3 separate regions of the Homo sapiens genome follow, and all the other regions are linked to region 3. The links are contacts of gene promoters, found by promoter capture Hi-C in blood cells and fetal thymus (Javierre and others, 2016). All regions are on one chromosome and are shown on one strand. The core of a region is centred on a gene start or on the middle of the fragment in contact, and the rest is flanking DNA. Distances in the headings are between cores, read along the strand shown.

The links. Contacts are between HindIII fragments. The CHiCAGO score rates a contact against its expected background, and 5 or more counts as called.
Region 1: a contact is called between a fragment that was not itself captured here and the fragment with the promoter of EPOR in region 3, in 1 of 17 cell types (megakaryocytes). The highest score is 6.6, in megakaryocytes.
Region 2: a contact is called between a fragment that was not itself captured here and the fragment with the promoter of EPOR in region 3, in 5 of 17 cell types (neutrophils, megakaryocytes, monocytes and 2 more). The highest score is 9.1, in neutrophils.

What each region holds. Positions count from the first base shown.
Region 1 is chr19:11,449,170-11,453,341 of GRCh38, forward strand. PRKCSH (PRKCSH beta subunit of glucosidase II) reads left to right here. Exons shown (of 18, transcript NM_001289104.2): 16 at 1-6; 17 at 97-259; 18 at 1,477-1,799. The coding sequence ends at 243. It overlaps ELAVL3 (ELAV like RNA binding protein 3), which reads right to left. Exons shown (of 7, transcript NM_001420.4): 7 at 2,157-4,172. Among named protein-coding and RNA genes, the nearest start is that of PRKCSH, 16 kb to the left of the region's middle. RefSeq lists enhancers at 2,943-2,992, 3,023-3,142, 3,067-3,837. The HindIII fragment of the contact is 2,960 bases long and covers 1-2,730 here.
Region 2 is chr19:11,277,221-11,281,357 of GRCh38, forward strand. No RefSeq gene overlaps it. Among named protein-coding and RNA genes, the nearest start is that of DOCK6, 17 kb to the left of the region's middle. The HindIII fragment of the contact is 354 bases long and covers 2,483-2,836 here.
Region 3 is chr19:11,382,505-11,386,403 of GRCh38, forward strand. EPOR (erythropoietin receptor) reads right to left here and starts at 1,810. Exons shown (of 8, transcript NM_000121.4): 1 at 1,589-1,810; 2 at 593-728. The coding sequence starts at 1,703. RefSeq lists a silencer at 1,050-1,109. The HindIII fragment of the contact is 13,821 bases long and covers 1-3,899 here.

The DNA.
Region 1 (4,172 bases), core at 1-2,500, 66 kb after region 3:
ACCACCGTGAGTGCCTGCAAGGCAGGGGAGCTGGGGCGGGGAGACCCAGGCCTGGCCCAGCCGAACCCTCTCGAGCACCCGTCTGCCCATCCCCAGGTGCGCCTCCTGTGCGGGAAAGAGACCATGGTGACCAGCACCACAGAGCCCAGTCGCTGCGAGTACCTCATGGAGCTGATGACGCCAGCCGCCTGCCCGGAGCCACCGCCTGAAGCACCCACCGAAGACGACCATGACGAGCTCTAGCTGGATGGGCGCAGAGGTGGGCGGGGAGGTGGAGTCTCGTCGGCCTGCCCCAGCAAGGGGAGGCGGCGGGCCCTGAGGAAGATGGACCCACATGGCCACTCTATCAACCTGTGTCCCCATGTTCCCTGCTTTTTTGTTTTGTTTTTTTGAGGTGGAGTCTCACTCTTTGGCCCAGGCTGGAGTGCAGTGATGCGACCTCAGCTGACTGCAACCTCTACCTCCCGGGTTCAAACAATTGTCTTGTCTCAGCCTCCCAAGTAGCTGGGATTACAGGTGTGCACCACCATGCCTGGCTAATTTTTAGTAGAGATGGGGTTTCACCATGTTGGCCTGGATGGTCTCGAACTCCTGACCTCAGATGATCCACCTGCCTTGGCCTCCCAAAGTGCTGGGATTACAGGCATGAGCCACCACACCCGGCCATCTCCTGCCTTTTTTTTTTTGGATGGAGTTTCACTCTTGTTGCCGAGGCTGGAATGTGGAATGCAATGGCGCGATCTCGGCTCACTGCAACCTCCACCTCCTGGGTGCAAGCAATTCTCCTGCCTCAGCCTCCTGAGTAATTGGGACTACAGGCGCCGCCACCACGCCTGGCTAATTTTTTTGTATTTTTAGTAGAGATGGGGTTTCCCTGTGTTAACCAGGTTGGTCTCGATCTCCTGACCTCGTGATCCGCCCTCCTCAGCCTCCCAAAGTGCTGGGATTACAGGCTTGAGCTACCATGTCTGGCCATCCCCTGCTTTTTAAAAAAAGATTTTTTTACTTTTGAAACTAAATAGGCCAGGCGTCGTGGCTCACATCTGTAATCCCAGCACTTTGGGAGGCTGAGGTGGGCGGATCACTTGAGGTCAGGAGGTTGAGACCAGCCTGACCAACATGGTGTAAAACCCCATCTCTACTAAAAATACAAAAAAATTAGCTGGGTGTGGTGGTAGGTGCCTGTAGTTCCAGCTGCTCAAGAGGCTGAAGCACAAGAATCACTTGAACCCAGGAGGTAGAGGTTGGAGTGAGCCAAGATCATGCTACTGCACTCTCCAGCCTGGGCTACAGAGTGAGACTCTCAAAAAAAAAAAATAATAATAATAAGAGAAAATAGACAAGGTCTCCAGGCTGGTCAACTCCTGGCCTCAAATGATCCTCCCACCTCAGCCTCCCAAGCAGCCGGGACTACAGGCAAACATCACCATGTCCAGCTGTCCCCAGCTTTCTAATCTGGTCTTTCTCTTGCCCCAGAACCTCAAGAAGGCATGAAGCCAGCCCCTGCAGTGCCGTCCACCCGCCCCTCTGGGCCTGCCTGTGGCTCTGTTGCCCTCCTCTGTGGCGGCAGGACCTTTGTGGGGCTTCGTGCCCTGCTCTGGGGCCCAGGCGGGGCTGGTCCACATTCCCAGGCCCCAACAGCCTTCAAAGATGGGTAAAGGAGCTTGCCCTCCCTGGGCCCCCCACCTTGGTGACTCGCCCCACCACCCCCAGCCCTGTCCCTGCCACCCCTCCTAGTGGGGACTAGTGAATGACTTGACCTGTGACCTCAATACAATAAATGTGATCCCCCACCCAAACTTGTCTGTGTCTGCCTCGCTTTGCTGGGGTGTGGACCGGGGTGTGGGCAGGGGTTGAGCGCAGGGGACGCAGCTTTCTGCAGATCCCACCCGGGCCTCCCCCACCATCTGGGGATCACTCCTGAAGATACCAGGTGGATGGACCCTGGACCATTTCTGTCTTGAGCATCCATCCGGGCCCGTGTCCCACCTTCCCTGGGTCTCATCTGTGCTCTGTGGAGGCCAAGGGTTCCCTCCCGGGGCCAAAGCCCCTGCTGCAGACAGACCCAGGCCCAGAGAAGGACGGGGGCCTGGGCGCTACTACACAGGCTGCTCCTGCGTGCTCCCCGCGCAGCGGTGCAGAGATCACCCAAGGCCTTAAGATTCTGAACTTTTATTTTCTGGCATGAAAAGTACAAATAATTAAACAATTCCATGTAAAAGTCTGTTACCGCGGCCAGGCCTGTGATCCCGGTAATAAATAGTCTAAACGCAACGCGAAGTGTTCTTGTTGGGTTTTTTTTTTTTTTTTGTCTTTTGTTTTGTCTTTTTTTTTTTTTTTTTTTTTACAGTTTTTTATCACCTCCAACATGGACTCTGTCGTGATTTGAAACCTTCCGAATAAATAACAGGATGAAGGGAGGGGTGGAGGGGCTGAGCCCCCTCCCCCCTGGCCTGGCCCCTGCCCCCCAGGGACGTGGAAGCCCCAAGTCCCCCTCGCCTGGGAGCCCCGGCCTGGCCCCCTGCGGGGAGGGGCTGGCCTCCAGGGAGGGGGCCTGGCTGGGCTGAGTTTTGTGTTTTAGAAAAAGAAGTCCCCTCCCAGTCTTGGGGGTGGCAGGGGCCTAGGCCTCGGTGGGGGGGGGGTGTGTGGGGAGGTGCCCCCTCTCTGGAGCCTGGCCCCCCCCAGGGTGGGGGACAAACCCAGCCCTTATTGCTCGGACGCCCTGCTGCAAGCTTCCCACGCGGACGTGCGTGTTCCCGAATGCAGAGGGCGGAGGGGAGAGAGCCCCAAGAGACAGCAGGGGAGAGGGGTCCCTGCCCTGCTGCAGGGGAGAGGAGAGAGGGCAGGGAGGACTTAAAACCACGAGAATAAATAGGTTCGTGTATCAAGAACAAGCTAGGGATTTCACCAGCTAAATAGGACTGAAAAAATTCTCAAGACAAGAGCAAAAAGAATCCCATTGGTGACCTGGACGTCGCTGGCCGTGGGGACTGTCCCGCAGAGCACACGCCCCCGCGTGCCACTCGGCTACCATTACTGTTATTAATAATTATTATTACTTTAATGATTCCACTTCCCCTTTTATAAATAAATTAGGCATAACCATGTCTCGGCAAAACTTAAAGAAACAAAGAGAACATTGTCGTTCCTTTAACTTGCAAACCGGATGAAGTAACAGAAATATACACGGATGTCCTTACAGGGCAACGAGGAGAATAAATAGTTAACATAGCAATAAGTTAAAACTACAAGAAGCTAAATTCAGCAAAAAAGTACAAGAAAGTTAACTGGTGCCAGTTTATGTCTTTTTTTTTTTTCCTTTTTTTTTTTTAAATCTCTTCTGTGTGTTTTCTTTTTTTGTTGCTTTTTTTTCCTCTTCTGTTTGTGTTTTTTTGTCGCTTTTTTGATTTTTTTCTTTTTTGTTCCTTGCAGCAGAAGCTCCACAGACGTTTAATAACAACACCGGGAGGGGTGGGGGAGAGAGAGCTGGACAGTCAGATGGGGGCGCCATAGCCAGACACCAAACGTGGGGACACCGGGGGAAGGCAACTTAACTATAGCTAAAGTCGGGGGTTTTGCAATTCTCAGTTCCGATGGGGCCGCTGAGTGGGGTGGGGAGCGGTGCGAGGGCTCCCAGGGGCTCCGGCCTGTGGCTTCTGTTGGAATTTTTTTTTTTTAAAGAAAGAAAACTAGGGCGATGCAATGTCCAGACAGAAGCCGGGGGCCGGGGCTCGAGATCGGGGGCTGTGTCCACTGCAATCTGGAAAGACGAAAAACCCAACAAACCGAAAGGGGATAGGTAGGTGACAAGTGGACGGGAAAGGAGTGTGGGGCTGGGCCTTTGGGCCCATCCACCCCACCCTGGGCCTGGCGGGGAGTGCCGGGGTCTTGCTGCCGGGGAGGCCCAGTCCTGGTGGGGGAGGCTCAGGGCTGGGCCTCTCCCTCAGCTGTGTGGGCCAAGGCCTCGGCCCAGGGGGAGGCTGAGCCCCGGGGACAGGGGTGTCCTTTGGCCTCAAGTGTTGTGGGGGGGGGGGCTGCCTCCAGCCCACCGTGACGCCAAGGTGGAACGAGGTATCGTGTGTCTCAATGCATGTGCGCTGCGTGTGCACGCCTGTGTTCGTGGGCGCCAAGGAGACCGCTGGGGGTCCAGGAGAGATCTCTGCAGAGAACCT
Region 2 (4,137 bases), core at 1,410-3,909, 100 kb before region 3:
CGTCTGCAATCCCGGCACCTCGGGAGGCCGAGGCTAGCAAGATCACTCGCGGTTAGGAGCTGGAGACCAGCCCGGCCAACACGGCGAAACCCCGTCTCCACCAAAAAAAATACAAAAACCAGTCAGTCGTGGCGGCGCGCGCCTGCAATCCCAGGCACTTGGCAGGCTGAGGCAGGAGAATCAGGCAGGGAGGTTGCAGTGAGCCGAGATGGCGGCATTACAGTCCAGCCTCCGCTCGGCATCAGAGGGAGACCATGGAGAGAGAGGGAGAGGGAGAAGGAGACCGTGGGGAGAGGGAGAGGGAGAGGGAGAGCTCTTTTTAATTTTTTTTGTAGAGGCCAGAGTCTTGCTATGTTGCCCAGGCTGGTTTCAAACTCCTGGCCTCAAGTGATCCTCCTGCCTCAGCCTCCTACAGTGCTGGGATTACAGGTGTGAGCCACTGCACCCAGCTGGCTATGTGGTTTCTTGTGCATCACTCTATCCCTAGTGCGCTGCACACAGCCTGGCACACAGTAGGTGCTCAGTAAGTGCTTTCTGAGTGAATGATTGGGAGAAGCAGAAAGTATTCCAAGGGAGGCATGGGCAATTGTTTTTTTGTGTTTTTTTGAGATGGAGTTTTGCTCTTGTTGCCCAGGGTGGAGTGCAATGGCACGATCTCTGCTCACTGCAACCTCCGCCTCCTGGGTTCAAGCAATTCTCCTGGGTTCAAGCGATTCTCCTGCATTCAAGTGATTCTCCTGCCTCAGCCTCCTGAGTAGCTGGAATTACAGGCATGCGCCACCACACTTGGATAATTTTGTATTTTAGTAGAGACGGGGTTTCTCCCTGTTGGTCAGGCTGGTCTCAAACTCCCGACCTCAGGTGATCCACATGCCTCGGCCTCCTAAAGTGCTGGGATTACAGGCGTGAGCCTCCGTGCCCAGCCAGGCAATTTTGTTAATCGCTGAATCTTCCAGTTTCCACATGCCTCCTCCTCTCTCCAACCCTTCTCGCCCTAACTTTTCCAGATTGTGCATGAAATTTCTAGATTGTGCATGAATGCCCTGCCCAGCCCTGCACATTCAGAATTCATTTGAATTGAACCTGAGAGGTGGAGGTTGTACCGAGCTGAGATGGTGCTACTGCACTCCAGCCTGGGCGACAGACCGAGACTCTGTCTCAAAAACAAACAAACAAGCAAAAACCACAAAAAACCTGTACATGAGCTGGGCAAGGCTGAGTGTGGTGGCTCACACCTGTGATCCCAGTGCCTCCAGAGGGTGAGGCGGGAGGAATGGCTTGAGGTCAGGAGTTTGAGACCAGCCTGGGCAACATAGTGAGACCCTGTCTATAAAAAAAATAAAGAATTAGCCAGGTGTAGTGGCGCATATCTGTGGTCCCTGCTACTTGGGAGGCTGACAAGGGAGGTTCGCTTGAGCCCAGGAATTTGAGGCTGCAGTGAGCTATGATTGTGCCACTGCCCTCCAGCCTGGGTGACAGAGTAAAAGACAATAGCAACAAAAACGCTGAATGAAATACAGCAAACATGCTTTTAAGTTATCAGCTAAGTTCACAAAAAAGTAAGAGAAATCTCCAAGGAACACAGAGGAGGGGAAGTTAGTGCTGAGGCGCCACATTCCTTGACCCTGTGAGATAAAGGCTGCAGTGAGCCGTGTTCACACTGCTGCACTACAGCCTGGGCAACAGAACAAGGCTCTGTCTCAAAAAAAAAAAAAGAAAAAGAGAAAAAGAAACCTCGTCTCCAAAAAAAAAAAAAAAATTAAAAATCAGCCTGTAGTCCCAGCTATTCAGGAGGCTGCGGTGGGAGGATCGCCTAATCCCAGGAGCTCCATGTTGCAGTGAGCTGTGATCAGGCCACTGTACTCCAGCCTGGGTGATAGAACAAGACTCCATCCCCTCCCCTCAAAATAAAAATAAATTGAAAAAATAAAGAACAAATTAAAACAAGGTCATTAGGATGGACCCTAATCCAAATGACCACTATCCTTATAAAATGAGGAGGTATGGGCTGGGTGCAGTGGCTCGTGCCTGTAATCCCAGCACTTTGGGAAGCTGAGGCAGGTGGATCATTTGAAGTCAAGAGTTCAAGACCAGTCTGGCCAACGTAGTGAAACCCTGTATCTACCCAAAATACAAAAATTAGCTGGGTGTGGTGGCGCATGCCTGTAATCACAGCTATTTGGGAGGCTGAGGCATGAGAACTGCTTGAACCTGGGAGGTGGAGATTGCAGTGAGCTGAGATTGTGCCACTGCAGTCCAACCTGGGGGACAGAGGAAGACTCTGTCTCAAAAAAAGAAAAAAAAAAAGAAAAGATGAGGTGATATGGACACAGAGACAAGCATTAAAGAAAGACTATGTGAAGACACAGAAACAAGGCAACTGGCTCTAAGCCAAGGAGAGAGACCTCAGAAAGAATCAACCCTGCTGACACCTTATTCTTGGACATACACCCTCCGGAACTGTGAAATGCCCTGTTTTATAAGCTTCCCTGTCTGTGGTGCTTGGTCATGACAGCCTTAGCAAACTCATACACGTCCCCTCTTCCCAACTGCTGCTTCCTGGCATCACCACCTCTCAGACAAAGTACTTGTATTAAATCCTTGTTTCAGTGGTGGCTTCCACGGAACCCAAACTAAGACAAGGCCACCCCAGGGTACAAAAGGTGGCATGGGGAAAGAAGAGAGTCTCTGGGGAGCATTGTCATGCAGAGAAAGGAAAGGAGAGGTCTTCAAGGAAGTAGAGCCAGACCTCAGTTTCAGAAGCCATTGTATTTGCTCCCAGAACCCATGAGAAAAAACTTCTGCTGTGGTGGTGGTGGTGAATCCCACAATAGGAAGCTTCTCTGTGGTTTTGAGCCACAAAAGAAAGTTGTAGCCCATTGTTTCATGGCCACAAAGGAAATGGTTTCCAGTTGGGTGATGGTTCGCTTGGGTTGCTGGGAGGATCTGACCTCAACCTTCCTGCTGCACCCTGGGCAATGGTGCATCTTCTCTTCCGGCATCTTCTCTCTCCTGTTTTTCAAGTTTACTCTTTTTTTTTTTTTTTTTTTTTTTTTTTTGATACGGAGTCTCACTCTGTCACCCGGGCTGGAGTGCTGTGGCGCGATCCTGGCTCACTGCAAGCTCCGCCTCCTGGCTTCAAGCGATTCTCATGCCTCAGCCTCCCGAGTAGCTGGGATTACAGGCATGTGCCACCATGCTCAGTGGCTAATTTTTGTATTTTTAGTAGAGACGGGGTTTCACCATGTTGGCCAGGCTGGTCTCAAACTCCTGACCTCAAGTGATCCATCTACCTCGGCTTCCCAAAGTGCTGGAATTACAAGCGTAAGCCACCACACCTGGCCCAAGTTTACTCTTTCTAAAAAGAATTTATTTGGGGTTTGCTCTGTTGCCCAGGTTGGATGCAACCTGGTGGTATGATCATAGCTCACTGTAGCCTTGAAATCCTGGATTCAAGTGATCCTCCTGCCTCAGCCTCCTGAGTAGCTGGGACTACAGGTGTCCATCACCTGACCCAGTAATTAAAATTTTTTTTTGTAGAGATGGGGTCTTGCTATGTTGCCCACACTGGTCTTGAACTCCTGGCCTCAAACAATCCTATTGCCTCCAATACATCTGGCCCAGGTTTACTCTTTTTTTTTTTAGACAGTATGTTGCTCTTGTTGCCCAGGCTGGAGTGCAGTGGCACAATCTCGGCTCACAGCAACCTCTGCCTCCTGGGTTCAAGCGATTCTCGTGCCTCACCTCAGCCTCCTGAGTAGCTGGGATTACAGGTGCGTGCCACCACCCCCAGCTAATTTTTTTGTATTTTTAATAGAGACAAGGTTTCACCATGTTGGCCAGACTGGACTCAAACTCCTGACCTGAAGTGATCCACCCGCCTCGGCCTCCCAAAGTGCTGGAATTACAGGCATGAGGCACTGCCGCTCAGCCCCCAGGTTTACTCTTTTTTTTTTTTTTTTCTTTTTTTGAGACAGAGTTTCACTCTTGTTGCCCAGGCTGGAGTGCAATGGCATGATCTCGGCTCACTGCAACCTCTGCCTCCCGGTTTCAAGCGATTCTCCTGCCTCAGCCTCCCGAGTAGCTGGGATTACAGGCATGCACCACTATGCCCTACTAATTTTGTTTTTTTTTTTT
Region 3 (3,899 bases), core at 560-3,059:
AGGCATGCGCCACCACGCCCGGCTAATTTTGTATTTTTAGTAGAGATAGAGTTTCTCCATGTTGGCCAGGCTGGTCTCAAACTCCCGACCTCAGGTGATCCGCCCGCCTCAGCCTCCCAAAGTGCTGGGATTACAGGCGTGAGCCACCGCGCCCAGTCTAATTTTTTTTTAAGAGACGGGGATCTCGCTGTGTTGCCCAGGCTGGTCTTGAACTCCTGGGCTCAAGCGGTTCTTCCGCCTCGACCTTCCAAAGAGTTGGGATTACAGGCATGAGCCACTGCTGGCCTCCTTTTGGATACTACCTCGAGAAGGCGTCCCAGCCCCGACGTAGTAACGCCTTACCCTCGATTTGGAGGCGTTGTTATCCCAGCCTGATGTTTGGGGTCGCGTTCCAGCGGTGATCGCGGGAGTGTTCGCGCCCCGGCCCATAGAGGGCGTGCCAGCCCTGGACCCGCAGGTTTCCCTCCAGTGACCACGACTGGAGGCGCCGTCGGGCCTCAAACAGCAGGGGACATACGAGGCTACGACCTCCAGGGAGCTCTGCCCCACCCCCTCCCTCCGCCCTTGGAGGCACCCGCCGGATCGGACTCACTCGAGCTGGTAGGAGAAGCTGTAGTTGCCCGGGCCCACCCCAGCGCTCGCCGCTTCCTCCCAGAAACACACCAAGTCCTCCAACCGCTCGGTGAAGCACAGAAGCTCTTCGGGCCCCCGGGCCGCCAGCAAGGCCGCTGGGGAGGGGCGACAAAGGAAGGGCATGGGGGTCTGAGCTCTATCCTCGGGAGACAGCCCCCTCCTCTTCCCTCCCGCAGCCTGGGCGGACCCGATAAGAAAAAAGCCCCGCCCTGCCATCTTCCCAAGCGGGTCCCTTGGAGGGGTCCGCAGAGGTGGTGCCCCCCTAATTCCCAGGGGCAAGTTTCTCGCCTTACTGTCCCCCGCCGTCACCACTGGCGCACACCTGCCCACCCAGCGGCCAGCTGAGCTGGGCGCGGCGTTCAAGACCTCGAGCTCGGGACTGCCAGCCCCGCCCCAGCCTAGGACACGCGCGCGGCTGGGGGTGTGTGCGGAGAGGCGGGCCCCCTATCGGCCCCGGCAGGCTCCCCGCCAACCGATAGCGCCAACCGTGCCCCCCGCCTCCCTCCCTCCACCGGGCCGGGCAAGTGATCTGGCGCCCTCACACAAACCGTGTTTACAGTAGCCTGTGGCTTGGCCCCTCTAACTCGGACCCGGGCTTTACCCTCCCTCCCCTAGGGAGGGTCGGCTTGGTCCCCACCCCCCAGGGACCTTAGCACCAAGTCAGCCCCCTTAGGATTTAGCATGTCCCAGACTCCCTGAAAAGGTAAAACGGGAATGTTAAGCCCACTCTAGCTCTTGCCCGGGACGCGATCAGGAGTCTTGGATCCTAACATACCCCACCCCGCCCCCCACCCATCCAGGACCCAGTCTAAGGGTTCAGATGCCAGCTTGGCCCCCAGGACCCGGTCAGGAAGTCCAGAAACAGGCATGGCCCCCAGGACCTAGGCTGGGAGTTCAGGCCCCAGCATGGTCCTGCAGGCTCCAGCGTAGGGGTCCACACGCAGCTCATCCTTACCTTTGCTCTCGAACTTGGGGTCCGGGAGGTTAGGCGGGGGCGCCCAGGCGGCCCCAGCGAGCAGGAGACAAAGGGAGCCGACCTGGGGCCAGAGGGACGCCCCGAGGTGGTCCATGATACAGCCCCCGCCACGGGGAGCCCAGGGCTCCTGCCCCTCCGTCCCCCGCCCCCGGCACAGTCCACAGCTGGGTCAGCAGCTGCCTCCGCCGGACGCAGCTGACCAGGCCCTTCCCGACCAGGCGCCTCTAAGTGGCAGATCCCCGAGGGGGCGGGGCCAGCACTCAGCCTGGGTAGAGATAAGTGCCTGGCGGGAGGAGGCAGGGGCCCTTCCCGAGCCCAGAGGCCGCTTGGGGGCAGGGGAGGGAGTTGGGCCGCAACAGCTCCCGTTCTGGCTTCAGACACACGTTTTTTTTTTCTTTGTGGCCCTGGACAGGTGACTTACCTTACCTGAGCTTCAGACTTCTCATCTGTAAAATCTAGCCTGGCACATAGCGAACATTCCAAAAAATGTACCTACTGATTTTATCGCAGAAATCAGCATCTCTTCCCAGCCTGGAAATAAATAAAAATTATTTTCTCTCTCTCTCTCTCTCTCTCTCTCTCTCTCTCTCCTTTCCTTCCTTCCTTCCTTCCTTCCTTCCTTCCTTCCTTCCTTCCTTCCTTCCCTCCTTCCCTCCTTCCCCCTCTCTCTCTCTGTCTCAGGGTGTTGCTCTGTCACCCAGGCTGGAGTGCAGTGGCACAATCATAGCTCACTGCAGCCTCTGGACTGAAGCAATCTTCCCACTGCACCTGGCTAATTTTTAAAATTCTTTGTAGAGATGGGATCCCACTATGTTGTCCAGGCTGGTCTTGAAATCCCGGACTTAAGCAATCCTCCAGCCTCCATCTCCCAATGTGCTGGGAATACCAGCACGAGCCACTGAAGCCGGCCAATAATAATCCTTGCAACGACCAGCAGTTGAGTGTTTGCACAGTGCTAGGCCATGCTCCTGGGCAGTATGCATAATATGTGAGATTTTCATTTACGAATTTTTGGGAAAAAAATTTTTACCACCCACATTTTTATTCTCTTGGGCTGGGCCCGGTGGCTCACGCCTATAATCCCAGCACTTTGGGAGGCCGACGTGGGCAAATCACTTGAGGTCAGGAGTTTGAGACCAGCCTGGCCAACATGGTGAAATCCCATCTCTACTAAAAATACAAAAATTAGCCAGGTGTGGTGGCGTGTGCCTGTAATCCCAGCTACTCAGGAGGCTGAGGCATGAGAACTGCTTCAGTCTGGGAGATGAAGATTGCAGTGAGCCAAGATCATGCCACTGCAACTCCAGCCTGGGCAACAGAGTGAGACTGCATCTCAAAAAATAATAATAATTGGCTGGGCGCGGTGGCTCATACCTGTAATCCCAACACTTTGGGAGGCCGAGACAGGCGGATCATGAGGTCAGGAGTTCGAGACCAGCCTGGGCAACATGGCGAAACCACGTCTCTACTAAAAATACAAAAATTAGCCAGGCGTAGGCCGGGCGCGGTGGCTCACGCCTGTAATCCCAGCACTTTGGGAGGCCGAGGTGGGCAGATCACGAGGTCAAGAGATCAAGACCATCCTGGCCAACATGGTAAAACCCCATCTCTACCAAAAATACAAAAATTAGATGGGCGTGGTGCTGCATGCCTGTAATCCCAGCTACTTGGGAGGCTGCAGGAGAATCGCTTGAACCCAGGAGCCGGAGGTTTCAGTGAGCCGATATTGTGCCACTGCACTCCAGCCTGGTGACAGAGCGGGACTCCGTCTCAAAAAATATATATATATATTCGAGCGTGGTGGTGGGTGCCTGTAATCCCAGCTACTCAGGAGGCTGAGGCAGGAGAATTGCTTGAAACCAGAAGGCAGAGGTTGCAGTGAGCTGAGATCACACCATTGCACTCCAGGCTGTGCAACAAGATTGAAACTCTGTTTCAAAAAAATAAATAAATAGTCCATGCACAGTGGCTCATGCCTGTAATCCCAGCACTTTGGGAGGCCGAGGTGGGTGGATCACAAGGTCAGGAGATCGAGACCATCCTGGCTAACACAGTGAAACCCTGTCTTTACTAAAAATAGAAAAAATTAGCCGGGCGTGGTGGCGGGTGCCTGTAGTCCCAGCTACTCGGGAGGCTGAGGCAGGAGAATGGTGTGAACCCAGTGGGTGGAGCTTGCAGTGAGCCAAGATTGTGCCACTGCACTCCAGCCTGGGCAACAGAGCGAGACTCCGTCTCAAAAAAATAAATAAATAAAATAAATAAATAAATATAAATAAATATAAATAAAATA